Linked DNA regions of Homo sapiens: all the other regions are linked to region 2. The links are contacts of gene promoters, found by promoter capture Hi-C in blood cells and fetal thymus (Javierre and others, 2016). All regions are on one chromosome and are shown on one strand. Each heading gives the region's core, a stretch centred on a gene start or on the middle of the fragment in contact. The rest is flanking DNA. Distances are from core to core; before and after follow the strand shown. Region 1 overlaps KMT2E (lysine methyltransferase 2E (inactive)). Region 2 holds the start of DNAJC2 (DnaJ heat shock protein family (Hsp40) member C2). Region 3 overlaps KMT2E (lysine methyltransferase 2E (inactive)). Region 4 overlaps KMT2E (lysine methyltransferase 2E (inactive)). Region 5 overlaps SRPK2 (SRSF protein kinase 2). Region 6 overlaps LINC01004 (long intergenic non-protein coding RNA 1004). Region 7 overlaps KMT2E (lysine methyltransferase 2E (inactive)).

Region 1 (3,705 bases), core at 1,084-3,583, 1.8 Mb after region 2:
TACATAATTTCATATACCACTGATTAAAATCATGCTGAATTTCCAAAAAGTGCACCAGGGTATTTATGTATTTTGGTTGTTGGCTTCATTTTTTTAAATGAGAATGGAAGATAAGGCAGTATCTCTGCTTTTAGAAGTATTCACAAAAATAAATACAACTCAGCAATAAGTGAAGGAAATATAAATATGATACATAGCTTATAGCTGGAGAGAGATCAGATTGTCTCATGAACTCTAGGTAATACATGTTTATATTTATGTATATTTAATATATTTTTGTATTTATATTTATGATGGACCTTTTGAGTAGGGTTTAACCAAATACAGGTTAGCTTATGACAAAGTTTCATGGAATGTATTTTTCCAGGGGGAAATCTTGGAGAGAGCTGTAAATATATTTGGTTGGGATTATAGGCTGTTTTTGGAGGAGGAGAGGGCTACTAGGGAGATAAAGTTGGCTATAGGTCACACAAAATACTCAGGGATGAAGATTTCATGAAAGAATATTTATGTGGCCAAGATGGAAGGCCTTTTCATTTCCAGTTCCATTACCTCTACCCCTTTTGGCCTTTTGGATTTTTCTTTTATGAACATTTTCTTTTTCCATCCATGATATTTTGTCTTTTTTATCCTTAAGAAGTCGTTACCTGCTTTTACAAAAGCAAATTTGTGGCTAAGTTATGTGGAACTGCATGGTTATTGTACGTTAGGAAAATCTTACCATAAGCCCAGTAGACTGAAATACAGTAGACTGTTTATACTCACTAGATTCCAAAAACCAGGGCACTACTGAGTGTCCTCCTAGTATATTTGTGGAGGTGGGGCTAGATGGCTGTAATCTTCTCATATAAACAGTACATGTGGAAGGGGATTAGATACTGGGGGGTATACCTGTAGCTTAAAGTGATCATTTTAAAAGCAGCAAACTTCTGAAAGATTTAAATACTAAAAGAGACTTGTTGCTGGGCTTGGTGGCTCACGCCTGCAACCCCAGCACTTTGGGAGGCCAAGGTGGGTGGATCACTTGAGTCCACGAGTTCGAGACCAGACTGGGTGACATGGCAAAACTCCATCTCTACTAAAAATACAAAAATTAGCCAGGCATGGTGGCACATGCCTATAATCCCAGCTACTTGGGAGGCTGAGGCATGAGAACCACTTGAACCCAGAAGAGGAGGCTGCAGTGAGCCAAGATGGCATCACTGCACTCCAGCCTGGGTGACAGTGAAAGGCTCAAAAAAAAAAAAAAAAAAAAAAAAGACACTTCCTCCCCCATTTATAATGGCATGAAAACTGTCTCCTTTGTAGTTTTAAAATATTTCCAAAATAATTTTTCATAACCCTCATAATGTACTTTGGGAATACAATCTTGGTAATATTTGATGGCCTATATTATCAGATTGCTTAAAATTGAGTCCACAGAAGATGATTCAGTGTGGTCTTCATATTTAAAAGGACGGACATTTGAGAAACGGTGAAAGGGTATGACAAGGAAGTCACGTAGGCAAGAGATTCCTGGACTTGTCAAGCAGGTATTATAGTCTAGTCTGGAATTTTTATACCACCACAACATAAACTTCATGAGGGAAAAAACTTTCAGTTTTATTCATTGTTGTAGCCCTAGCTCCTAGGGGAATAAAAAATGGTGGGCAAAAAAGTAGACCATCAATAAATGAGCTAACTGAATGTTTATAACAACCACTTGAGGAAAGATAGACAGACAGATACAGGCCCATGAATGTGAACTGAATGAAGCTTCCCTGTAGTTCAGGTAATGGATGATCTGGAGGCCTTGCCCTGAATTGTGCAGGATTCCCCACAATTTTCTCGGCTTTCATCCTTCACATCAAGTATTCCACGCAAGTATAATTTGAGATGCTTTGTGAAAAAGAGCCGTGACCAGTTTACTGTGATGAGCACTATACTATATTCTTCCTTTTCAGATTACCAGTGTACATGTGTTTAAAAACTTGACACAATTGTCAGATTTTCCTAAACTTGTATACCCTTGCAGTTTCTTGTGGATAACACCTTTGACCCCCACAGAGTGTTATTCAGTGGAACAGACTCTGTGGGAAAACACTGCAGAATCCATGCTGTTACTAAATGTCTCTAGGAAAACTTGACTGACTTCATTTAGAAAATCACTTTAGAATATGCAATGCTTTAATAATAAAATAGGATAAGTTTGTTGCCAGAAAAGTCATCTGGTGACAGGATTTGAGATGTTATCCAACTCCCTGTTCTGTCCTCCGTTGATGCTGATTTTTTTTGTAAGGTCCTGTTTTCTCTAATTGTAGAGACTGGGAATTTTATTTCTAAAGATAAGTAATTAATGACATTGTGGTGTTAGTGAAAGGGAACCTGTTTATTATTTTTTTCATTTTTTTTGAGACGGAGTCACACTCCGTTGCCAGGCCTGGAGTGCAGTGGCACAATCTTGGCTCACCGCAACCTCTGCCTCCCGGGTTCAAGTGATTCTCCTGCCTCAGCCTCCCAAGTAGCTGGGATTACAGGTGCCCACCACCACGCCTGGCTAATTTTTTGTATCTTTAGTAGAGATGGGGTTTCACCATGTTGGCCAGGCTGGTCTTGAACTCCTGACCTTGTGATGATCCACCCACCTCTGCCTCCCAAAGTGCTGGGATTACACGCGTGAGCCACTGTGCCCAGCCACCTATTTTTATTAGGTACTCAGTTCAAACAAAATGAGGTTAATCAGCTTTAACTGCCTTCTAATAAATTCAAGATTTCCAAAATTGTTGAAATGCTTCCAGTTAGTTACATGTCTTTAAGTAACGTGATACGTGCTTGACATAATGTACACATGGTTCTTACTCATTTAAAAACAATGTGAGTGCTTGCCATTTGAGATATCGGATGAGCAAAGAAGGAAAGGTCACTGCTCTGGAAAAGCTTTCGTAGAGAATGGGGTAGAGGAAATAACAAACGAGTATCAAAATAATAAAGAGTGCCATGAGTATAAATTCCATCATCACATGATAGAGGAAATGGAGACACCACACAAGCCATACGTGTTATTTTGGAATGATTTTTATTAGTAACAAATAATCTTACCCATCTTTTTAGATTTATAAGTTTATCTTTGTTATATAAAAGGGTAACAAGTTTTTTTGAGCAAGGAATCATTTAATTTCTCTATTTCAAGACCAAAGAAGAATAGGGTGATTTTGTAGGTGGGCTCTGGCTTTCCTTTTCCTATTTTTTTTTTTTTTTTTAGATAAAGACAGGGCCTCGCTCTGTTGCCCAAACTGGAGTGCAGTGGTATGACCAATAGCTTACTGCAGCCTCCAACTCCTGGACTCAAGCAATCCTCCTGCCTCAGTGTCTGGAGTAGCCAGAACTACAGGTGCATGCTACCATGTTCCACTAATTTTTTTGTTTGTTTCCTGAGACAGAGTCTTGCTTTGTCACCTGGCTGGAGTGCAGTGGCGCAATCTCAGCTTACTGCAACCTCCACCTCCCTGGTTTAAGTGATTCTCCTGCCTCAACCTCCTGAGTAGCTGGGACTACAGGCGCGTGCCACACCTGGCTAATTTTTGTTTTTTTAGTAAAGACAGGGTTTCACCATGTTGGCCAGGATGGTCTTGATCTCTTGACCTCATGATCCACCCTCCTCGGCCTCCCAAAGTGCTGGGATTACAGGCATAATAAACCACTGCGCCCAGCCTAAATTTTTTTGTG
Region 2 (3,286 bases), core at 410-2,909:
TTCTGCCTCAGCCTCCCAAGTTGCTGGGATTATAGGCGCCCGCCACCACGCCCAGCTACTTTTTTGTATTTTTAGTAGAGACAGGGTTTCACCCTGTTAGCCAGGCTGGTCTCGAACTGCTGACCTCAGGTGATCCACCTGCCTCGGCCTCCCAAAGTGCTGGGATTATAGACGTGAGCCACCGCACCCAGACAACTCAAACTGTCTTAATTATTAAAATCTTGAATATAGCTCTTAAAAATTTTAAGAATTCACTAACAAGAATTTGTCCTGAAAGCAATTTTCCAAGCAGCAAATGGGAATTTACTAATGCAGCTAAGCTGTAGTGGAACAAGCTCTCAATCTGAAACCAGACACTCTGGGTTTTAGACTAGGTCTGACAGTGGCTATGTGACCTGAAATGAATCAGGATGTCTTCACCTGTAAAATGGGAACAATACCTATTTATCTCATTCAGTTCCTAGGAAGCTTGAATGAGACCACAGAAACTCTCTGAAATTACAAACTTGTAGTAAAGGTATCATCTATTCCTGGGAAGTGGGGGTAAATCACTGTACATGTGTATACTAGCAATTCAAAAAAGGAAAATCCCTGAACAACTTATTTTAAGATTTCCTCCACCTTACACAGGAGAGGATTAAAACACTGTCAAAAAGGTACTACCTGTGTAGTATGGGTGTGTGGCTTTTAAGAACACTGCCTTTTAAGCCTTTTGCTCTAGTTGTAAGAGGCACACGGAGACACATAAATGCAACACGTGCCATGGGTTATGTTCAAAATCACATTCAACAAGCGCCTATGTGACTGGCTATGGGAATTACTGTAGATCACTGGACCTGAAGACTCTTAAGTTTACAATACTCATGACTGTCCTGGGCCATAAAACTAAAACCTACAGCAGCAGGACAAGTTTCACTTGTAATAACTGCCTTTCAAAGTCTACGCGGATCTTTTCAGCAGCACAGTCTTTGAACACCGAGTATGAGGAGCGGTGTCTGAGTTGTGACATTTAAAAAACAAGGCCGGAGCAAACGTAGAGAGGGAGAAAGTTGTTTAAGAGAGCGCCAGTAGCAAAGCTTTGTACGACCCCAGGCACGTGGGGTGCTCGCTGCGCGTAGTCTTTCCACCGTAGGCAAGGAGATGCTTATGAGAACCTTTCTGGGGTGCTGGGGGGTTCCGTCCCGAAATGCTCAGCCCAATCCATGAGTCAGCAGCGGCGAGAGGAGGAAGCAACGGTAGGAGCAAAAGGAAGGCACCCCTCACCCTCCTTCCTTCTAATCTAGGGTAGGATTACTTTAAAACACGGAGCAAAAAGGCACTCGTCACGGCCCCATACGGCCCCGGGGCTAGTCGCCAGGGTCAAGGGTAGAGAGAGCCCAGGGTTGCCGAGGCGGAGGACTGAGGCAGGGGCAGCTGAGGTGAGAAGGAACCGAGGTTGGGTGGGCACTTACCAGAGGTCAGAGCGTGGGTGATGGCGGTGCCCCGGCCGTCCGCGGCGCTTGGCAGAAGCAGCATGATGGCGCCGGGTCTAGCCCGGTGGGCGCAGCGGCTCACGTCCCGGGCGGAGGGCGCTTAGGGTCCCCTCCAGCTCTACCTCTCACTCCGAGCCTCGCGCCTTGGCTCTAAGACGCCCAGGAACCGGCGCATGGAGACGACCAGTAAGCACTTCCGGGATGGATCTTTCGTGGTGTGGAGGCCAGTCTCACACCCTCCCACCCCCGCCAACGTGTGCGGTAACCTAGTTCTATACTGACTGAGATCCGGCTGGAGACCAAGTCGCACGAGAGAATGGTTCCTAGGCGCATCAGTTTTCCTGTAAAAAGGATTATATTCCACGTCCCAGTGCAATACATAGAACATAACCTTTAAAAGCAGTTCTTTTTATATTATCTTTAAGTTCTTACTGCTTTATGTATTAATCTGAACCTAATCAGTGATTTTCCCAGGAGCGCTATACTTTTAAGTAAAAAATGAAAATACCTGTATGAACCAGTATCGACGACTAGTATATACATTTGCGGAGAATTACGTACGTGTATTTGTGATACATTTGTGTTTAACTTGATGATGATAATAGCAGCTAATATTTGTCGTGCTATTACTAATTTACCTGCATTATATCTTTTAATACTCGCTTGGAGAAGAAACCTCTCTCTAGTGTGTTAGATTGTATTCCAAGGCCAGCAATATTTTTACCTTGTTCTAATGAAGTTTTTATTCAAGATATTCCCAATTATAGGACTCTGGGACTTAATTTTTTAATGTATAATAAAATCAATTGTATTCCTACTATATGCTTCCTTCTAAGACTGCAGTCAAAAGCAAAAACTAGCAAAAACAAACAGTGGGTAAAGGCTCACCCCCAACAGCAGTATCTGAAACAGGTTCAATAAAATAAACTTGATATGCCACTCTTTAGCAAGGACCACCAGAAATTAGTAAATTAGAAAATAACTTACTAATTTCATTATATTTTCACAATTAAAGTTTTTAAATATATTATATATATATATATGTATATTTTTTTTTGTAGAGACAGGGTCTCACTATGTTGCCCAAGGTGGTCTTGAACTCCTGGCCTCAAGGGATCCTCCTGCCTCAGTCTCCCAAAACTCTGGGATTAGAGGCGTGAGTCACTGTGCCAGGCCAATTAAATACATTTAATTGGTCTGTATATCTGCTGCATGATAAAATTGTCACTTCAAAACTGACTTTTCAAAAATTGAACTAAGGGAGGCTGAGGTGGGAAGATCGTTGAGGCCGGGAGGTGGAGGTTGCAGTGAGCTGAGATCACACCATTGCGCTCCAGCCTGGGTAACAGTGAGACCCCGTCTTTAAAAAAAAAAAAATTGAACTAATCTTCTGCCCCAAAACCTCTTCCTGATCCCTACTAATGCAACCACTGTTAAAACATGCTCCAAGGTGCAAAGTAACCTGACTCCACTTTCTTCATATTAATATATTTTTTTCCTCACACCTCCTCCCATTCAATTTTACCATTAACTCTAACATGGGTTTTTGTTTTTTTGTTGTTTTCTTTTCTGAGACAGAGGCTTGCTCTGTCGCCCAGGCTGGAGTGCAGTGGCCTGATTTCGGCTCACTGCAATCTCTGCCTCCCAGGTTCAAGCGATTCTCCTGCCTCAGCCTCCCGAGTAGCTGGGATTACAGGTGCGTGCCACCACGCCCAGCTAATTTCTGTATTTGTAGTAGAGACGGGGTTTAGCCATGTTGGCCAGGCTGGTCTCCAACTCCTGACCTCATGATCTGCCTGCTTCAGCCTCCCAAA
Region 3 (3,313 bases), core at 570-3,069, 1.7 Mb after region 2:
CATAGAAAAGTTTAGAGAAAGATACATGGCAATATTAACATGAGAATGTTTGGGAGTTGGGTGGAGACATAGTCTTACATTTTCTTATTACTGCTATATTTAGATTTTCTACAATCAGCATGTATTAATTTTGAAATTAAGAAACATTTCTTTTAAAATAATGAATAATTCTTAATGTAACAGCATAGACATTAGCTGAATATTGATTTTCTTGTTGTTGTTTTTTTTTTTTTTTTTTTTTTTTTTTTTTTTTGGAGACAGAGTCTTAACTCTGTCGCCCAGGCTGGAGTGCAGTAGCGCAGTCTCGGCTCACTGCAACCTCTGCCACCTGGGTTCAAGTGATTCTCCTGCCTCAGCCCCCAAGTAGCTGGGATTACAGGTGCCTGCCATCACCCCTGCCTACTTATTGTATTTTTAGTAGAGATGGGTTTTCACCATCTTGGCCAGGCTGGTCTTGAACTCCTGACCTTGTGATCCACCCGCCTCTGCCTCCCAAAGTGCTGGGATTACAGGTGAATATTGGTTTTCAAAGTACAGTCATGCACACATAACAACGTTTCAGTCAACACCAGACCACATAATACAATGGTGGTCCCATAAGATTATATTGGAGGTGCCGTCTACACGTGTACCATTTTTTATCTTTTTTATTGTTTTTTTACTGTACATGTTTTTTTCTCTTTTTAGAGACAGAGTCTCATTCTGTTGCCCAGGCTAGAGTGCAGTGACATGATCATAGCTCACTGTAACCTCAAACTTCTAGGCCCAAACAGCTCTCCCACCTCAACCTCCCAAGTAGCTAGGACTACAGACGTGTGCCAACACGCTTGGCTAGTTTTTTTTTTTTATTTTTAATGTCTGTAGAGAAAGTCTTGCTATCTTACCCAAGCTACTCCTGAACTCCAGGCTTCAAGTGACCCTCCTGTCTCAGACTCCCAAAGTGTTGAGATCATAGGCATGAGCCACCACACCCAGCCCTTATTTTCTATGTTTAGATGTGTTTAGATACAGAATACTTAGCATTGTGTTACCTACAATATTCAGTGCATTGTGTTACCTACGATATTCAGCGCATAACATGCTGTATAGATTTGTAGCCTAGGAGCAATAGTTATGCCATTTAGCCTAGGTGTATAGTAGGCTATACCATCTAGGTTTGTGTAAAGTACACTCTATCATGTTCACACAACGGTGAAATCACCTAATGATGTATTTCTCAGAATGTATCTCCAATGTTAAGCAAAGCATGACTATATTCAGAACATAATGGAGACTCTTCACAATCTCCTTTAGAACCATTAGATAACCTCAGTTTGTATCTCCTCTTTTTGCTGATTCTGGCACACAGCGCTTACAACAGCAGCCACTGAGAGCTAAATTGAGACTTCGTGAAGGGATGACAGTATATTAAGAAGCAGTTGACTGTAAAAAATGTTTTTTATGCTGCTAGTCTCATGACTAATCAGAATATAACCACTAAATATCCTTAAACTAAATAATAGTGCAAATAGTACTAAGTTCTAATGTAAAGTTTTAATAGGAGGTAGGATAAAGATTGTCATGAAAAATTTTTCAAGTGATGTTATAGTTTTGTAAAATAAAGGCACAGAAACAAATCATGTTATTGAGTATTTGCAAGGGAGAGATTAATTTTAGTGTGAACTGACCTCAGATGTAGGTTCACAACCTTGTTGATCAATAGGAATTAACCAAGTAGAGCTCAGGAGGATTGGTAAGAGTAAAGAAGTTGGGAAAGTGATGTATGTAAAATGCTAGGCCAGGGAGCTTGTAAGTCAACAACAGTGGGCAAATTGTATCAGTAGTTGATCAGTCTCCATCATCTAAGACCAGAATTGCTCATCTTACAGATAGCTGTTTATGTTTTTTTTCAGGTATAAATCCTGGTTTATTTTGAAACTTCCTATTACTTAAGTTTACTGACATTTCCAAGGCTTTATTATATTAATATCTGGTCACACTCAACACATGCATATATTTTTGAACACTGAAATGCATACTTCAGTTCCATTTGAGGTCCATATAGATTCTGTGTGTTTTAGTCTTGCTTAAATTATTTCTACTACTTCTTTGCACCCCTTTGCTAGTTTTCTCAGTGCCGTAGGGTTTATTAAATAATAATTGGACTCTAGTAATTTTTTTTAATGAGAGAGAGGGAAACTATATTTGAAATTGGATTGGGACATTTATTTTACTTAAACAGAAGTTTGCTTATGACACATAATCTAGATGGGATATATCTTATCTATAGTGTATCCACCTGCTGTAAGTAGATACTGTATTTGTATAGCCATTATTTTGCTGTAAGTACTTTATCATTTTAATTAAATTGATTAAGAGGAAAAAAAAAGAATGGAATTCTCTTTGATGCAACTTTTTCCCCCCAGACCAGAATCCGTAGAAGCTAGCCCTGTGGTAGTTGAGAAATCCAACAGTTATCCCCACCAGTTATATACCAGCAGCTCACATCATTCACACAGTTACATTGGTTTGCCCTATGCGGTAAGTGTTAAACACTTCTTTGAAAAAACATTTTTAAATTTAGAGATTGAAAGTAGATGCATGTGATACTGTGCTTGAAACGGCATGTTTGAAAAGCATGGTTGTTTCATACTATCAAAATAATTAGGCGTTTAATTTTTCATTAACCATTAAGCGATTAAAGTTCTATAAAAGTGAACTGTTTCTCTTATTATTTTGCAATTTATGCTGTTAATAGTTTGATATTATATTTCTTTACTTCCTAAAAGAATGCAGATAAGGTTGTATTGTACTACCTACTATTAATTTTGAATTATATAGTAATTAATTTTGTTTTAATTTTTTGATTTTTAGTTTTTGAATTATATAGTAATTTATATAGTAAATTTTATAGTTACCATTTATTGAGCCCTTGTTATGTGTCAGACATATATTATTTAATCATTAAAAACAACTTCATGAGATGTAGTTTTCATCTTTTATTTCATAGGTGAGAAAATAAAAGCCTATCTAACTTATTAAATATTGCATATCTAGTAAGAGGCAGCATTTAGATTCAAACGTAATTACATAACAACACATTTATGATACTATGGAGGTAGAATTATGAGATACTTACTACTTGGACCAGAATAAAAATTACTAAATTTAAAAAACTATATTATATGTTTTATAGTGATAAATATGTCTTGTTTTATTATTCTTTAGGCTCCATATTTCTGAGATGTGTGTTTTTCTTTTTCTTTTTTTTTTTTTTAACACTTCTATTCTCACATCTTAATACCTTCTTTCATCTTGGAGGTGGAGCTATGTA
Region 4 (3,531 bases), core at 103-2,602, 1.7 Mb after region 2:
GTTCTGTAATGTGCAGATGTTGGGAGGAGCCTTATTTTTTTCTTGACATTGAAAGAATAATTTTTTGTATTACCTACAAATTTACTTAACATGGAGGAACAGTATTTGTTGTTGAAATTGTTTTCTACACTAAACTGGAAGTGGATGGTATTTAACTAAAAATCTTGCAATTGCTATTAAACAATGAGTATTTTGCATTATATAAAATAAACAGTATTTTACTTTGTATAATATAAAATGAGTATTTTACTTTATATAAAATACTCTGTTTAATAGCAATTGCAATATTTTTAATAGCAATTGCAAGAGATAAGAATTAACCATATTATGATGCAAACAAATTGTTTTTTTGTTATTGTGAACTTCCATGCTAAGTGCTACATTAAAAATCAAATGAAGGTGACCCAGAGTAAGTTAATTAGATTTTAATTCATATCTTTAAGGATAAAAGAAGTTTTTATTAACCATTGGTAACTAGGATGCTTTTTACTTAAATCAGAGTCAGGAAAAGCAGTTGGTCTTATATTTCACGAGATAACATGTTTTCACTTGATATGAAATCAGTTCTTTTTTTCCCTCATGAACAGCTCATAATTGGATTTTATTTTTGGACAGAAAAACTTTTTTTATTGTTAGGTGAATTTTACAGTTTTATTGGAAATCTCGTTTGGTTATTTACCAAAACTATTTAAGCTTTTTGGGATGTTGGACATTTTCAATGCAACAGGTCAACAAAGAATTCTTTTTTGATGTGTTGCATTAAGATGCCATCAAAACAGACACTACGTCTTTTAATGAGTAAATAATTAACCTATAATATGTGTAAACTACTTGTTCATCATTTTTAATTAAAATATTTTGTATTTCAAAACTGTTTCAAATATGAAATCTGGGTTTAGAAAGGATCTGCATGCAGGTCAACGTGATAAGCAATGATCTATGTAGCTTTATTTTTACGACAATTGGACAGAGGTAATTTCTTAGCACCTCTTAGGCTGCTTAATTTAGAGTTAATCCAAAGGAAGAAACATTCCTTCAGAAGACTAGGACATATCAGATATTAATTATTAAAAATAGGCTGGGCACGGTGGCTCATACCTGTAATTTCACTACTTTGGGAGGCCGAGGCAGGCGGATCATTTGAGGTCAGGAGTTTGAGACCAGTCTGGCCAACATGGTGAAACCCCATTTCTACTAAAAATTACAAAAATTAGCCGGGCGTGGTGGCAGGTGCCTGCAATCCTACCTACTCAGGAGGGCGAGGCAGGAGAATTGCTTGAACCCAGGAGGCGGAGGTTGCAGTGAGCCGAGATTGTGCCACTGTACTTCAGCCTGGGCGATAGAGTGAGACTCTGTCTCAAAAAAAAAAAAAAAGTAAATAAGTAAATTAAAAAAAAAAATTCTTGGTCCTGAATTTTAATATTGAGAAAGATGATATTGTGTAATCACACCTGTGTAATAGCCAACTTGGTTGCAGCATTTAAGGTCATGCCTGTCTAGCATACGATAGTGGATTGAGTTAGTTTTGGTTTGTGGTACTTACAACTTTAAAGTTCACTTGGCCTGGCATGGTGGCTCACGCTTGTAATCCCAGCACTTTGGGAGGCTGAGGCAGGTGGATCACCTGAGCTCAGGAGTTCAAGACCAGCCTGGCCAACATGGTGAAACCCCATCTCTGCTACAAAAATTAGCTGGGCTTGGTGGCGGGTGCCTGTAATCCCAGCTACTTGGGAGGCTGAGGCAGGAGAATTGCTTGGACCTGGGAGGCGGAGGTTGCAGTGAGCTGAGATCGTGCCAGTGCACTTCAGCCTGGGCAACGAGCGAAACTGCATCTCTAAAAAAATAAATAAAGTTTATGTAATTATGCTGTCTCATGTTTTATCTGAGACCAAAAATGTTTAAATTTTTTCATTTATGTTGACTTTTGTTTTCATAGGGTATTTAAAATAATTTCCATTTAAAGTCTTAAAAATTTACACTTATAAATTATTTTAAACTTATTTGAGTTAAATAAGCTTAAAGATTAAATATCTTTTCCTTACCGTTTGGCCTAAGATGAAGCCTAGTGTCAGTGGTTTTTAGTAAAAAGTGAGGAATATGGTGAAAAGAAAAGAATTAACCATTACCACTTAGGATATTGTCAGGGAAACATAGTTTGGGTCTTTCAGAGAATGTGTATGAGAAACATACACTCTTCTAATATTTTTGTTTTCTTATTTCAGAGACTAATATATGTAATCGTTTCTATTTTTGAGTTTACAGAGAGATATCTCCAGTTCCTCTTACCATCTTGCTTTATGTAACATTTAAAGAAAGACAGCGTTCAGGAATTTGAAAACCCCATTTCCTCTTTAATGAAGTGGCTGAGATGGGAAGATTCATGATGTGACTAATTTGAATGGTTAGGACTGTGGTCCAGTAGCCATAAATAGGGGTCTCAGGTTGGTCTGATACATAGTAACTCTTACCCAGAAAATAAGTCTCTGCTTCTTCTCTTTAAATGAAGTTGCTTAATTGGTTGCCTTGACACAGGCTTATTACATCTTACATCATTAAGCCTTCGCTGTAACAATATTTTTGAAGCACAGACAAAAGATGAATTTGAGTAGCTATTATTTTCCTGGCACCACAGATGCAGAGAGAGATGAGACTGTCCCTGCTTTGAGAGAACCCGTAGTTTATTTCACCTTCTTAAAAGCCTGCTGTTTTAGAGTTTTTTGGATGCAAGGAACAGAAATCAGCTCTAGCTAGCTTAAATAAAGGATTTGTTATAAGGCTATAGGGAAATCTCACATAATTTATTTGAAGAAAGTACAGATGGGCCTCACAGGAATTGGCAAGGTGTCAAAGAGCCACTATTCACCATCTTGATCCCCTCTAATTATCTGAGACTAGTTAGAGAGATGGTGGTGGGGTGGGTGTTCATGGTTTGTAGAGTGGCGTTTCTCAGAGTAAAGCAAGAGAAAGACACGTTTAATTCTCCTGAAAACAATTACCTTTTTCCAGGAATGTTCAAAGGTACTTGGGAGGGCTTCCAAAACTAAATAATTGATATATCACACTGATGATTCAATTTTTAATTAAAAAATTGCCACACACACATGATGAGGAATGCTAAAAAACCAAGATATTTTTGGTTTTAACTTAAAAATAATGTAAAATTTACTGAAAATTTACTTGAATAGTACAAATAACTCTCTTATACTGTGTACCAAGATCACCGGACTTGTGACATTTTGCTGTTTGCTTTATTATTCTCTTTATATATACACCTGGTATTTTTCCTGAACCATTTGAGAGTGGGTTTCATTGCCAGTAGTACTAGCCCCCTTACAGCCCTTATTACTGAAGTATGCATTTCCTAAGAACACGCATGTTTTCCTAAGTAACAGAGTAGTTGTCAAATTCAGGAAATTTAACATTGATGTAATACTAAATAGTCCATATTCTAGTTTTATCAGTTGTCCCTATTATGTCCTTTATTAGCATTTTTTTCAGTACCATTAGCCGATCCAAGATCACAGATTGCAT
Region 5 (3,654 bases), core at 95-2,594, 1.8 Mb after region 2:
AAATCGGTTTTCACCTAAGAAGTTTATGACTCGGAAGATCTTATATCCACCTTTTCTCTGCCTTTGGGCAGTTCTGTCTGCCAACTTCTAGATAGCCAGCTCCTGTATCTGCTATAAACACATATGTGATCCACTGCTTGTCATTTTCCATGAAGATTTCACATGGACTACAGAAAGGAAAAGATAGATAGGACATTCAATTGAAGTCAGAGAGCTAGTTATAATGTTTAGCATAACCAGTGGTTCTCATTTAGTTTTTGTGCATTCTTTATCAACAAGCCGCCAAGAATCTGATAAAGCCATATTATGCCTAATACAAATGTATATTCCTTCTAGAACAACCGTTTCTGTATTATAAACTAGTTAGGCTGTTTTATCATAAGGGACACACCTGTAAAAATTCATAATCTAGTTTATTTTCCAACATAAGCAAAAACTGCATTAGACAAATTTCATTCAAGTATACTATCACCCTGATAAAAATCCTTTTACACTTAGGGAAGATATAAATTATGCCCTATGGTTCTTGTAAGGATGTTTCTCATAGAAATCACGGATAGCATCACCAGTCTACAGCCACTATCTATCACAGAATTTACATGGAAACCTACAGCCTCATTAGAAAAACTTAGCATGCAAATTTCATAAAGAAATTAATGAATGATCCATTCTACCTCACAGTGGTAATGTGATATAATGGTAATTCCTAAGAGGATTATGTGTCTTGTTTCCTAACAGCAAATGCTGTTTTGTTTTAAATTTGCAATGATCAAACAAATGCAGTTAGTATGTTTTTGATGAACCATGGATGAAAAGGGATCATTGATATTCTAGAGAATCAATCTATACTGTAGCTTTTCTCCTAAATCCCTTCTGCCCTTAAAAAACAATAAATGATTTCCTTATAATACGCCTCAATGCATGTTCTACAACTACATCTGCTGCAACAGGAATGCTGGTATTTAGTTTTAGTGACACTACTCTGATAGCAAATGTTCATTGATTCTATCATTTATAGGGCAATGACCAAGGCAATGTCTGGAAAAAAAAAAACCAAAACACTTTAATTTTTAAGACAACTGCAAGCACCTCAAACAATGGATTATTGTTACAACACTTGTTAGCTTTTCACAATCTAGTTATTGCAAAGGCATATGGATAAATGTTAATGGACAAAGTCAAAAACGAGGCACCTTAATGAATGTAAAATTTAAAATAAAAAGACATTCAATCCACTGACTTCTAAAAGAGGCTAAATATACCTCTATATATTACATTCTAAAATTGTATTGCCTACTATGGTTTGTATCCTGGAGTCTACAATTAATTTTAAGGAAATGCATAAACAAAACTGTGTGCAACCTGCAAAGGGAAAATCATTTTCTCAACTTCGTTTCATGGAAAGACAATGAAAAAGCTAGTAAAATTTGTTGTAGCCACACGTAAAGCTACCTATGGAATGAATGTGATCACTGTTATCTTTGAGCTGTGAGAAGTATTCTGCCCACTGCACTGCAAATTGTATATACCATACCTTGTGTTCTAGACAAGCATGATCATGCTTTTCCAAAAATATATGTATTTTTTCATTCCACACAATTAACACGTTTCTCCAATTTAATCTATGTAGAGCTTAACTTACAGCGCCCAGAGGAGGCAACATGACATGGTACTGAGCCATCACATTTTTAAAGGGAAATTGCTCTTCTTTAAAAGTACTTTTAAAAATATGCAAAATCACAAATGGGACTGCTAAATTATAATGCATATTTTAGAATGAGAAACATATCTTTTCTTCCTTTAAAGTGCCATATAGAGAATGACATCTTATAACCCAGAGCCACTTTGTTTAAAATCCAATGTGAAAAGACTGTTATGGAATGAAAAGTTTGCACAACTCCTTGGAGCAGTTAAAGTCCGCTACATGCAACATAGGCTACAAAGCACTCAAGACTTGGTAGCTTTTCTGAAATTTGAGTCCCCCTCCCATATTTAATGGAAAGTAACATTTACAGGGTGCATTTACATACACTATAATACAGGAATGATGTCCCTTTGCCAGAAGATAAAATTGTACATTTCCTTGCTATTTCTTGGTTCCAACTTGATAATTTCTTAAGATTGTAAATTATATAGTACTCAGCTAAAATATTTCTTCATAAATAGTTACAAAACCTGCCAAAACACAAAGGGGAAAGTATTTTTCATTCAAAAAAATGACATTTGAATGTCACACAACACAAGAAACAATGCTTAGAGACATGTTATTGTTTCCAGAAGAAAATGGTCAGTAAACTACTTAGCTGAAGACAAAAGACTACCCTTCCCCAGGATCACAGTGCACAAAAAGCAAAATGTCAAACAACAGTACCTCAAAGCAAAATAAAGGTCTGAGGATGAAGCCAGCTCACTTGTAATCCTGTTAAAGAATGAGAGTCACCGTTTAGGTCCAATGTACTGGGAACATTTGCTAGCTCAGAATGCAATATTGGTAGAATTTGCTAAGAATTCAACCAAGGATGCCGAAGGCATTCGCCAGCTGAGGCTCGTTTTTCTGGAACCATTTCTAACATCGGGATCAGGAAATCTGTAAACTGTGCAGCATCTTCATGGGGCCAGCCATACTTTTCCACAAGTACATCAAAGAGGCTCCAGGGCTTCAGCTTGGTGATGTGTCGCAGTTCTCCTACAGGGGAAAAAACAGGCCAATGTCAAGAAAGCTCCAAATCTGCATTCCCCATTGTTGGTCCAGTCAGGTTCTTTTCAGTGAAGCGGACAACCACCTGCTCAACACTTGTACAGCAACAACAAAGAACACCAGCTTTTCCCCACTAAGCAATAATCATTACATGTACATATGACCAAGGCATATTTCAAGTAAGCCTGGTGGATCTAAATAGAGGTTAATTAATAGTTCATTCACATTAGTTCTAAGCTTCTTTAAGTAAGTGGAGTGGGCTCAGTTTGCCCAGAGTGTTTTCTTTTCCAAAGGTTGAAGCAAGCCACTCTCATTTCAACCTGGGATCTTCCGTAAAATTTGCAAACTTGAGGCCAACCCAAATCAAACACCATTCATGTCTACGCATTTGTTGTAAGATCTAAGATCCTAGGACATTAATTTGTAAACCTTGAAGTTATACTTCACAAACTGTGCTAGCTGCAGTATGAAAAGTGTCGGTTACAGGCAGCTTTGGTTGACATAACAGAATGACTAACAAGCTAGTAAATGGCCTACGAGCTGTAATGGTCATTTCATAAGAGAAAAAAAAGGTTATTTTTAAGTCAAAACTGCAATAAAGGGCTGAGGGCAGTGGCTCACTCCTGCAATCCTAGCCGTTTGGGAGGCTGAGGCAGGAGGATCCCTTGAGCCCATGAGTTTCAGACCAGCCTGGGTAACATAGACCAGACCCTGTCTCTACTTAAAAAGAAAAAAAGTAGCTGGGCACGGTGGTACATCCCAGCTACTCAGGAGGCTGAGGCAGGAGCATTGCTTGAGTCCAGGAGGTCAAGGCTGCAGTGAGTCAAGGTCATGCCACTGCACTCCATCCTGGGACAGAGCAAGCGAAACCCTGTCTCCCCATAACCTTTTCAAAAAGGCAATAAACTGTCAAAAGCTCCAGATAATTTCACTGTGAATAACTCGTTTTCTCTGCC
Region 6 (3,627 bases), core at 972-3,471, 1.6 Mb after region 2:
TATAGTTACCTTTAATCATGTAATTCAACAGGAATAGAGAGGACGGGGACTATGAAATCTCAGCTGTGATGCAATTATGTCTGCAGCTCAAAATAGATGTTCTTTTCTCCCTCTCTTTTCCTGCTAGGATTGCACTGTAAATTCATAGCTCTTGAAAAATCATTGCTCAAATATGCCCCCCTCTTTACCACCATTCATGTTATCCCCTATAATATCTGCATTCCTAAAAGGCTTGTTAAAATACAAATCTGCTTCATAAAACATTCCATAAATGAACCTAATATTACACCATTTTAAAAAGGTGGGAACATTGTCTTCACTGCAATTTCAGTATCTCAAAAAAATCTTTTTATTACAGTTACCTTTTCAAAATGTAGCACTGATTTGATGTTGACTTCGTACATTTGTCCAGAATCTACAGTAATTCTGATGCAGGTTGACTCAGTGTCCATATTTTAAGAACCACTAGTTTAATGATGATTCCACTGGTTGGAATCATCTCTTTGGCTGGTCCCAGGATACCCTGAAGGCAGTAGGTTGTGCAGAATCAGATGGAACACACTTATGGAGGCATGAGAGTCACCAAGTGAACCTTTTGTGCAAAAGTGCAAATTTGATTTGGAATTCTCAAAGTCCTATTTATTACAGAAACAAAGGAACCCAGTCAAATGAAATGTGCTGGATAGAAAATTGTGGTCTTTCCATAGAAAAACCTGTTTCACCAGTGCTTTGTTATTCGAATATTTAAGGTATTCATATTTCAAGTTTATTAAACCAGTTTAAATGCTCCTCCACCTACTTATGATTAAAACTTTCAACTCTTTATTACCTTGGTTAATGTTGACTAAGGACCTCCATGTTGAGGGAAAGTGCTGGGGTTAAGCAAATTGAACCTTTGTAGGCCCAGACAGGACCTTAATCAAGATATAAGAGGCCAGGTGTGGTGGCTCACACCCATAATCCCAGTTTTGGGTGGCCGAGGTGGAAGAATCGCTGCAGCCCAGGGATGCTGAGGCTGCAATGAGCCTTGATCATGCCACTGCACTCCAGCCTGAGCAACAAAGCCAGACCCTGTCTTAAAAGAAAAAACAAAGACCCTGAACTGCAGTCACACTTTCCTAAATACCTAGTAAAATTAGCTGGTTAAATCTAGTAAGACGTTCCCCAAAGATTTACGGCAGATGCTGTTTTATATATATTGCTGTGTCCCTCTGTGACAGGAAGTTACAGGGTTCTTTTTACCAGTAGTCCTGTACCCGGGGCCTTGCAAATCAGTGTCATATGGTAGAGAACAGAATCTGATCACATTTCCTACTTCCTAAGCAAGTACCAGAATATACTTACTAAGCTTGTATACTGCCCTCAACTGCTATATATTTTTTTCTTTTTTTTTTTTTTTTGGTGATAGTAGGGTCAAATGCTAAATTGTTCTGCATAAGAAATAAGAATTACAAAGACTGGGCAGCTGAGAAGAAACAATACTGCATACTTAAATTGTTAAGGTAGGTCTTGTGGTTTTTTTTTTTTTTTTTTAAATCACACACCCAAAAAGCTTAGGTGATAACTGCAAAGGATTTTTTTTGGGGGGCGGTGGAGGAGAAAAAAGGGGAGGAGTATTTTTGCAATTTAAACATCCTCTGTAATTTTTCCCGTAAAATCATTCGTAAAATAAACATTACTCATTAGTGCCTTATGAAGTTCTCCTTTTGGGGAATGTGATTAAACATATGGCCTTTATTTTATTTTTTTGAGATGGAGTCTCGCTCTTGCCCAGGCTGGAGTGCAGTGGCGCGATCTTGGCTCACTGCAAGGTCTGCCTCCCGGGTTCAGATCCTTCTCCTGCCTCAGCCTCCCAAAGGAGCTGGAACTACAGGCGCCTGCAACCACGCCCGGCTAATTTTTTTTTTTTGTATTTTTAGTAGAGACAGGGTTTCACCGTGTTAGCCAGGACGGTCTCGATCTCCTGACCTCGCGATCCGCCCGCTTTGGACTCCTGAAGTGTTGGGATTACAGGCATGAGCCACCACGCCTGGCCACGGCCTTTATTTTAAAATTTGGCATAGGAGTCAAAAGCTGCCCAAGGAGGGCAGCTACCTATGGGGTGTGCATACATTCATGACCAATATTTAAGTCCAATATAGCTTTGATAATTGTTCTATAAAATGTTTACACCTCACTGAAGAATCTGTCGTTTTAAAAGAAAATCTTTACATTTATTGTATCCAATTAACTTTGTTAGTAATCTGCCAAGTAAAACAAGTATTCATAGTAATTAGTGACTCTATTGCATTAGAACTGTAACTTAGTGCCATTTTTGAAGACTGTTTTCCCAACAAGGAGGCATTATCATTTATCCAATTACTTTATTCTCTTTGAATAGCAAGCATGATGTAGGCCTCAGCTCACAATTTACTTACCTGATTAGCTTCCATTTCTCTTTAAGGATATTGACTATGTGACACTTCTAAGAAGGCTGACTAGTACGTAAGATTATGTAAAAATCCTACCAGAGTATGTACTAAAATAAAGTTAACATGTCTATTTTCTAGTTGCTTGTGATTTATCTTAATTTTCTTCCTATGTCACTAAGATATGGGTAAAGAGCCCTAAACTCCAAACATTTTTACATGTTAATATAAATTTAATGGTGGCATATTATTCCATCTACTGGCTGGGACATGGTATATATAATTATTTGCCTATTAATCGGTTCTGAATATTTGTATTCTGACTCTTGGCTAAGCTGGCTTCTGTCTTTTCTAACTACTGACTGAACTGAACCCTTTGATGACCAGCAAGGTCTCTGACTTCCAAGTGCAATTTGAGCACTATTTATTTTTAGAAGTTTTAAGTCCAAACTATTTCCTTTAATTGCTCTTGTCCAGAATACACAAGCTTTTTCTATATAGGGCCACATAAGAAATATTTTAGGCTTTGCAAGCCAATCTCCCTCACATATTCCTTTCCTTTCCCCCATTAACAACTCTTTAAAACAAACAAACAAACAAACAACAAAACCTGAAACTGGAAGTTTTAAGTTTACTGCCACATGGGTACAATCATATACTTAGGTCGATAACTTTATAGTTTTAAATGTAACATCTCACATTTCAAGCATCTCCTAAAACTTGCCATTGTAATTCTAGTTGCTAACATAATGGACATCATTATTTTTATGAAAATATTCCTATAGAATTAAAAATAACACTTGAAAAAAATTAAGATTGTTTTTCAAATAGCTTACTTGGTTAAAGTCTACTTATGGAGCAAGCTACAAGTCCATATAATCTTTGCTGTTTGCCACCTACCTAACCAATTCCTCATTTTACTCATGTTTTGTTAGACAGAATCAACTTAGGATATTGTCTTCCGTCCTAGGGACCCAGAGGAAAAGAGATGACCAAAGATGCAATAAACTGCCCCAATATACTGTGTCTATTTAAACAGAAATCAATCAGCTGTTAGGCAAGCCAATGGGTGCATAAGTAGGGAGAGGGGTCAGCCAACACTGGACACCTTAGAGCAGTGGTTCCCAACCTTTTTGGCACCAGGGACCCGTTTTGTGGAGGACAATTTTTCAATGGACAGGGCAAGGGGATGGTTTTGGCATGAAACTCTTCCACCTCA
Region 7 (3,340 bases), core at 558-3,057, 1.7 Mb after region 2:
GAGAAACCCCTTCCTCTTTATTAGACAGTGTTAGATTGGGTCCTACATTATTGCCACCACTTTCAACACCCACTTTGTTGGTATTGGAATGGTATTGGAGGTCTCTTCTTTGGTTTGAGATTTGTATGCAGAATTAATATGACCCTTTGATAGGCGTTGCTTCCCTGTAGTCTAGAAGTATGTTCATATCTGTAGGAGAACATTCCTAGTCTGTGTCCTACAATTATCAAAAACATTTATTGTTTATAACTTGAATATTTACTTAAGATATGAAAGATACACAGCAATTTCTCCCTATTATGTAGCAGATTTGATCTGAAACGGTATAAGACAGATACTTTTAAATGCACCAGGAAATGTGAACTCTAAAGACATCAAATTAATCTTGTGAATGCAGTAGTCACTCTCTTTTTATCTTTCTTTGTAAATTGGAATTTCTACCTTCCATTAATTGCCTTTGATTTAGGTGAGGTTATGGGGCAGGTAAAAATCTCATTAGCATAAACTAGCATAAGATAAGAGTGAATTGTGGAGTCAGACTGCCTATATTCAAATCTTGGCTTCACTATGTCTTTTAGAAGTTTCTTAGACTCTGTGTTCTTAAGTTTCTTCATCACTTTGCCTCTGAAGAGTAACAGATTATTGTCCTAAAATGTTGACTTTTGTTTGTTTGTTTGTTTTTGAGACAGTCTCGCTCTATCAGTGAGGCATGATCATGGCTCACTGCAGCCTTGATGTCCTGGGCTCAGGTGATCCTCCCACCTCAGCTTCCCAGGTAGCTGGGACTACAGGCACATGCTACCATGCCTGGCCTTTTTTTTTTTTTTTTTTTTTTTTTTTTTTTGTAAATACGGAGTGTCGCCATGTTGCCCAGGTTGGTCTTGATCTCCTGGACTCAAGCAATCCACCTGCCTCGGCCTCCCAAAGTGCTGGAATTACAGGTGTGAACCAGCATGCCCGGCCTAAAATGTTAATAGCTTATAATGTTTCTTTCTTTGTAGACCATACCCTTTTGTGTTATTCTACTCTAAATTTCATGGGCTAGAAATGTGTGTTGATGCAAGGACTTTTGGGAATGAGGCTCGATTCATCAGGCGGTCTTGTACACCCAATGCAGAGGTAAGCTTATAGAAATTTTTTGGGGAGATGTGGGTGCTGGGGGTGTGTTGGAATCTGAGCAATAAGCACAAAACTCAGGTCACTGACCTAAGACACTTTCCACCTGTTGGTGCATTTTATACTGCCCAGCCTGTTTTTTTGTGAAAATTTATGTGATAACTGGCTATGAAGTCTTTTTTTTTTTTTTTTGAGACGGAGTTTCACTCTTGTTGCCCAGGCTGGAATACAATGGCACGATCTCAGCTCATGTAACCTCCGTCTTCCGGGCTCAAGTGATTCTCATGCCTCAGCCTCCCGAATAGGTGGGATTACAGGCACGCACCACCATGCCCGGCTATTTTTTTGCATTTTTAGTAGGGACGGGGTTTCACCATTTTGACCAGGCTGGTCTCGAACTCCGGACCTCAGGTGATTTGCCCATCTCAGCCTCCCAAAATGCTGGGATTACGAGTGTAAGCCACCATGCCTGGCCGCTATGAAGTCTTAAAAATTACTTTGCACCTTGAAGAAATGATGATGCTCCTTATAAGAGGAAATATTGGACTTCCTTTTTTTTTTTTTTTTTTTTTTTTTTTTTTGAGGCAGTGTCTCACTGTCTCCCAGGCTGGAGTGTGGTGTCATGAGCACAGCTCACTACAGCCTCCGTGACCTCTCATGCTCAAGTGATCCTCCTGTCTCAGCTTTCTGAGTAGGTGGGACTGCAGGCGTGTGCAACCATGCCCAGCTAATTTTTTAAATTTTTGCAGAGATGGAGTCTCATTTTGCTGCCCAGGCTGGTCTCCAACTCCTGGGCCAAGTGATCCTTCTGCCTTAGCCTCCCAAAGGGCTGGGATTACAGGCATGAGCCTGCCCGGACTTTTTAAATCATTATTATTATTATTATTATTATTATTTTTGAGGCAGGGTCTTGCCTAGGCTGGAGTGCAGAGGTGCAATCATGGCTCACTGGAGCCTCAACTTCCTGGGCCTTTAGGAGGTAAAGTTATCTTCTCACCTCAGACTTCTGAGTAGCTGGGACCACAGGTGCGTGCCACCATGCCCAACTAATGATTCTTTAATTTTTTGTAGAGTTGGGTTCTCCCTATGTTGTCCAGACTGGTCTGGAGCTCCTGTGTTCAAGCAATCCTCCTGCCTCGGCCTCCCTAAATGCTAGGATTACAGGCATGAGCCACCAGGTCCAGCCTAATACTGGACGACTTTCCTTCTATCTTGGAAGCTCTATTTATGGCTCAATACATGCGATGATTTAAGTTAGATGACAAAGCTAAAATCTAAAGTAGATTTTGTATGTTCTACTGTAAAATTTTTAATAATGTTATATTTTAGTGTGGAGTAGAAAATCGTGTTGGTTTTGTTTTTTACATGTCAAAATGAAGCTTTTTAGTTTTGTAATTATATAATGTTGCAGCCAAGAATGTAGGTGTTTTTTTTTTTTCCTCTCTTTTCTTTTTTTAAAAGACAGGATCTTGCCATGTTGCCCAGGCTGGCCTGGAACTCCTGGGCTCAAGTGTTTGTTCTGCTTCAGCCGCCAGAGTAGCTGGGATTATAGGCATGCGCTGCTGCACCCAGCTAAGAGTACAGATTTTGGAACCAGACTTAAATTTATTTCTTCTCTGTGACTTACTAGCTTTTTAACCTCAGTTTTATCTGTAAAAAGGTGATATGAAGACTGAAGGAGTTAATACATATAAAGTATATAGAATAGTGTCTTGTCATAGAAAAGTAGCGTTTGCTCAACCATTATTGCACTCATCAAACCTAAGAAGGCCAGGCACAGTGGCTCACACCTGTAATCCCAGCACTTTGGGAGGCCAAAGTGGGTGGATCACCTGAGGTCAGGAGTTCAAGACCAGCCTGACCAACATGGTGAAACCCCATCCCTACTAAAAATTAGCCAGGTGTGGTGGCACGCACCTGTAGTCCCAGCTACTTGGGAGGCTGAGACAGGAGAATCACTTGAATCTGAGAGGTTGGGGTTGCAGTGAGCCAAGATTGCATCATTGCACTCCAGCCTGGATGGCAGAGTGAGACTCTGTCTCAAAACAACAACAGCAACAACAAAAAACCCTAAGATGCCACCAGTTATAAGACTCCTGATTTCAGAGATGCTAAAAGGTGAAAAAAAAGAATTGATGAGGCTGGGTGCGGTGGCTCACGCCTGTAATCCCAGCACTTGGGGAGGCCGAGGCCGGCACATCATGAGGTCAGGAGATTGAGACCA

What was found. Contacts are between HindIII fragments. The CHiCAGO score rates a contact against its expected background, and 5 or more counts as called.
Region 1: a contact is called between a fragment that was not itself captured here and the fragment with the promoter of DNAJC2 in region 2, in 1 of 17 cell types (naive CD8 T cells). The highest score is 5.4, in naive CD8 T cells.
Region 3: a fragment that was not itself captured here is called in contact with the fragment with the promoter of DNAJC2 in region 2 in 1 of 17 cell types (activated CD4 T cells); the score reaches 5.3 in activated CD4 T cells.
Region 4: a contact is called between a fragment that was not itself captured here and the fragment with the promoter of DNAJC2 in region 2, in 6 of 17 cell types (M1 macrophages, activated CD4 T cells, total CD8 T cells and 3 more). The highest score is 8.5, in M1 macrophages.
Region 5: a contact is called between a fragment that was not itself captured here and the fragment with the promoter of DNAJC2 in region 2, in 1 of 17 cell types (total CD4 T cells). The highest score is 5.5, in total CD4 T cells.
Region 6: a contact is called between a fragment that was not itself captured here and the fragment with the promoter of DNAJC2 in region 2, in 4 of 17 cell types (activated CD4 T cells, erythroblasts, M1 macrophages and 1 more). The highest score is 6.9, in activated CD4 T cells.
Region 7: a contact is called between a fragment that was not itself captured here and the fragment with the promoter of DNAJC2 in region 2, in 5 of 17 cell types (total CD4 T cells, M1 macrophages, naive B cells and 2 more). The highest score is 7.3, in total CD4 T cells.

What each region holds. Positions count from the first base shown.
Region 1 is chr7:105,095,013-105,098,717 of GRCh38, forward strand. All of the region lies in intron 15 of KMT2E (lysine methyltransferase 2E (inactive)), which reads left to right. Among named protein-coding and RNA genes, the nearest start is that of KMT2E, 83 kb to the left of the region's middle. The HindIII fragment of the contact is 1,161 bases long and covers 1,754-2,914 here.
Region 2 is chr7:103,343,108-103,346,393 of GRCh38, forward strand. It overlaps DNAJC2 (DnaJ heat shock protein family (Hsp40) member C2), which reads right to left and starts at 1,660. Exons shown (of 17, transcript NM_014377.3): 1 at 1,452-1,660. The coding sequence starts at 1,515. It also overlaps a transcript of PMPCB not described here. RefSeq lists an enhancer at 1,603-1,842. The HindIII fragment of the contact is 5,590 bases long and covers 1,075-3,286 here.
Region 3 is chr7:105,059,759-105,063,071 of GRCh38, forward strand. It overlaps KMT2E (lysine methyltransferase 2E (inactive)), which reads left to right. Exons shown (of 27, transcript NM_182931.3): 4 at 2,406-2,520. Among named protein-coding and RNA genes, the nearest start is that of KMT2E, 47 kb to the left of the region's middle. The HindIII fragment of the contact is 6,535 bases long and covers 1-3,313 here.
Region 4 is chr7:105,018,749-105,022,279 of GRCh38, forward strand. All of the region lies in intron 1 of KMT2E (lysine methyltransferase 2E (inactive)), which reads left to right. Among named protein-coding and RNA genes, the nearest start is that of KMT2E, 6.3 kb to the left of the region's middle. The HindIII fragment of the contact is 1,322 bases long and covers 692-2,013 here.
Region 5 is chr7:105,115,337-105,118,990 of GRCh38, forward strand. It overlaps SRPK2 (SRSF protein kinase 2), which reads right to left. Exons shown (of 16, transcript NM_182692.3): 16 at 1,038-2,686. The coding sequence ends at 2,502. Among named protein-coding and RNA genes, the nearest start is that of KMT2E, 100 kb to the left of the region's middle. The HindIII fragment of the contact is 3,178 bases long and covers 1-2,933 here.
Region 6 is chr7:104,985,596-104,989,222 of GRCh38, forward strand. LINC01004 (long intergenic non-protein coding RNA 1004) reads right to left here. Exons shown (of 1, transcript NR_039981.2): 1 at 1-3,627. Among named protein-coding and RNA genes, the nearest start is that of LINC01004, 3.8 kb to the right of the region's middle. RefSeq lists enhancers at 1,411-1,912, 1,913-2,412. The HindIII fragment of the contact is 1,343 bases long and covers 1,551-2,893 here.
Region 7 is chr7:105,077,845-105,081,184 of GRCh38, forward strand. It overlaps KMT2E (lysine methyltransferase 2E (inactive)), which reads left to right. Exons shown (of 27, transcript NM_182931.3): 12 at 1,002-1,119. Among named protein-coding and RNA genes, the nearest start is that of KMT2E, 65 kb to the left of the region's middle. The HindIII fragment of the contact is 1,371 bases long and covers 1,123-2,493 here.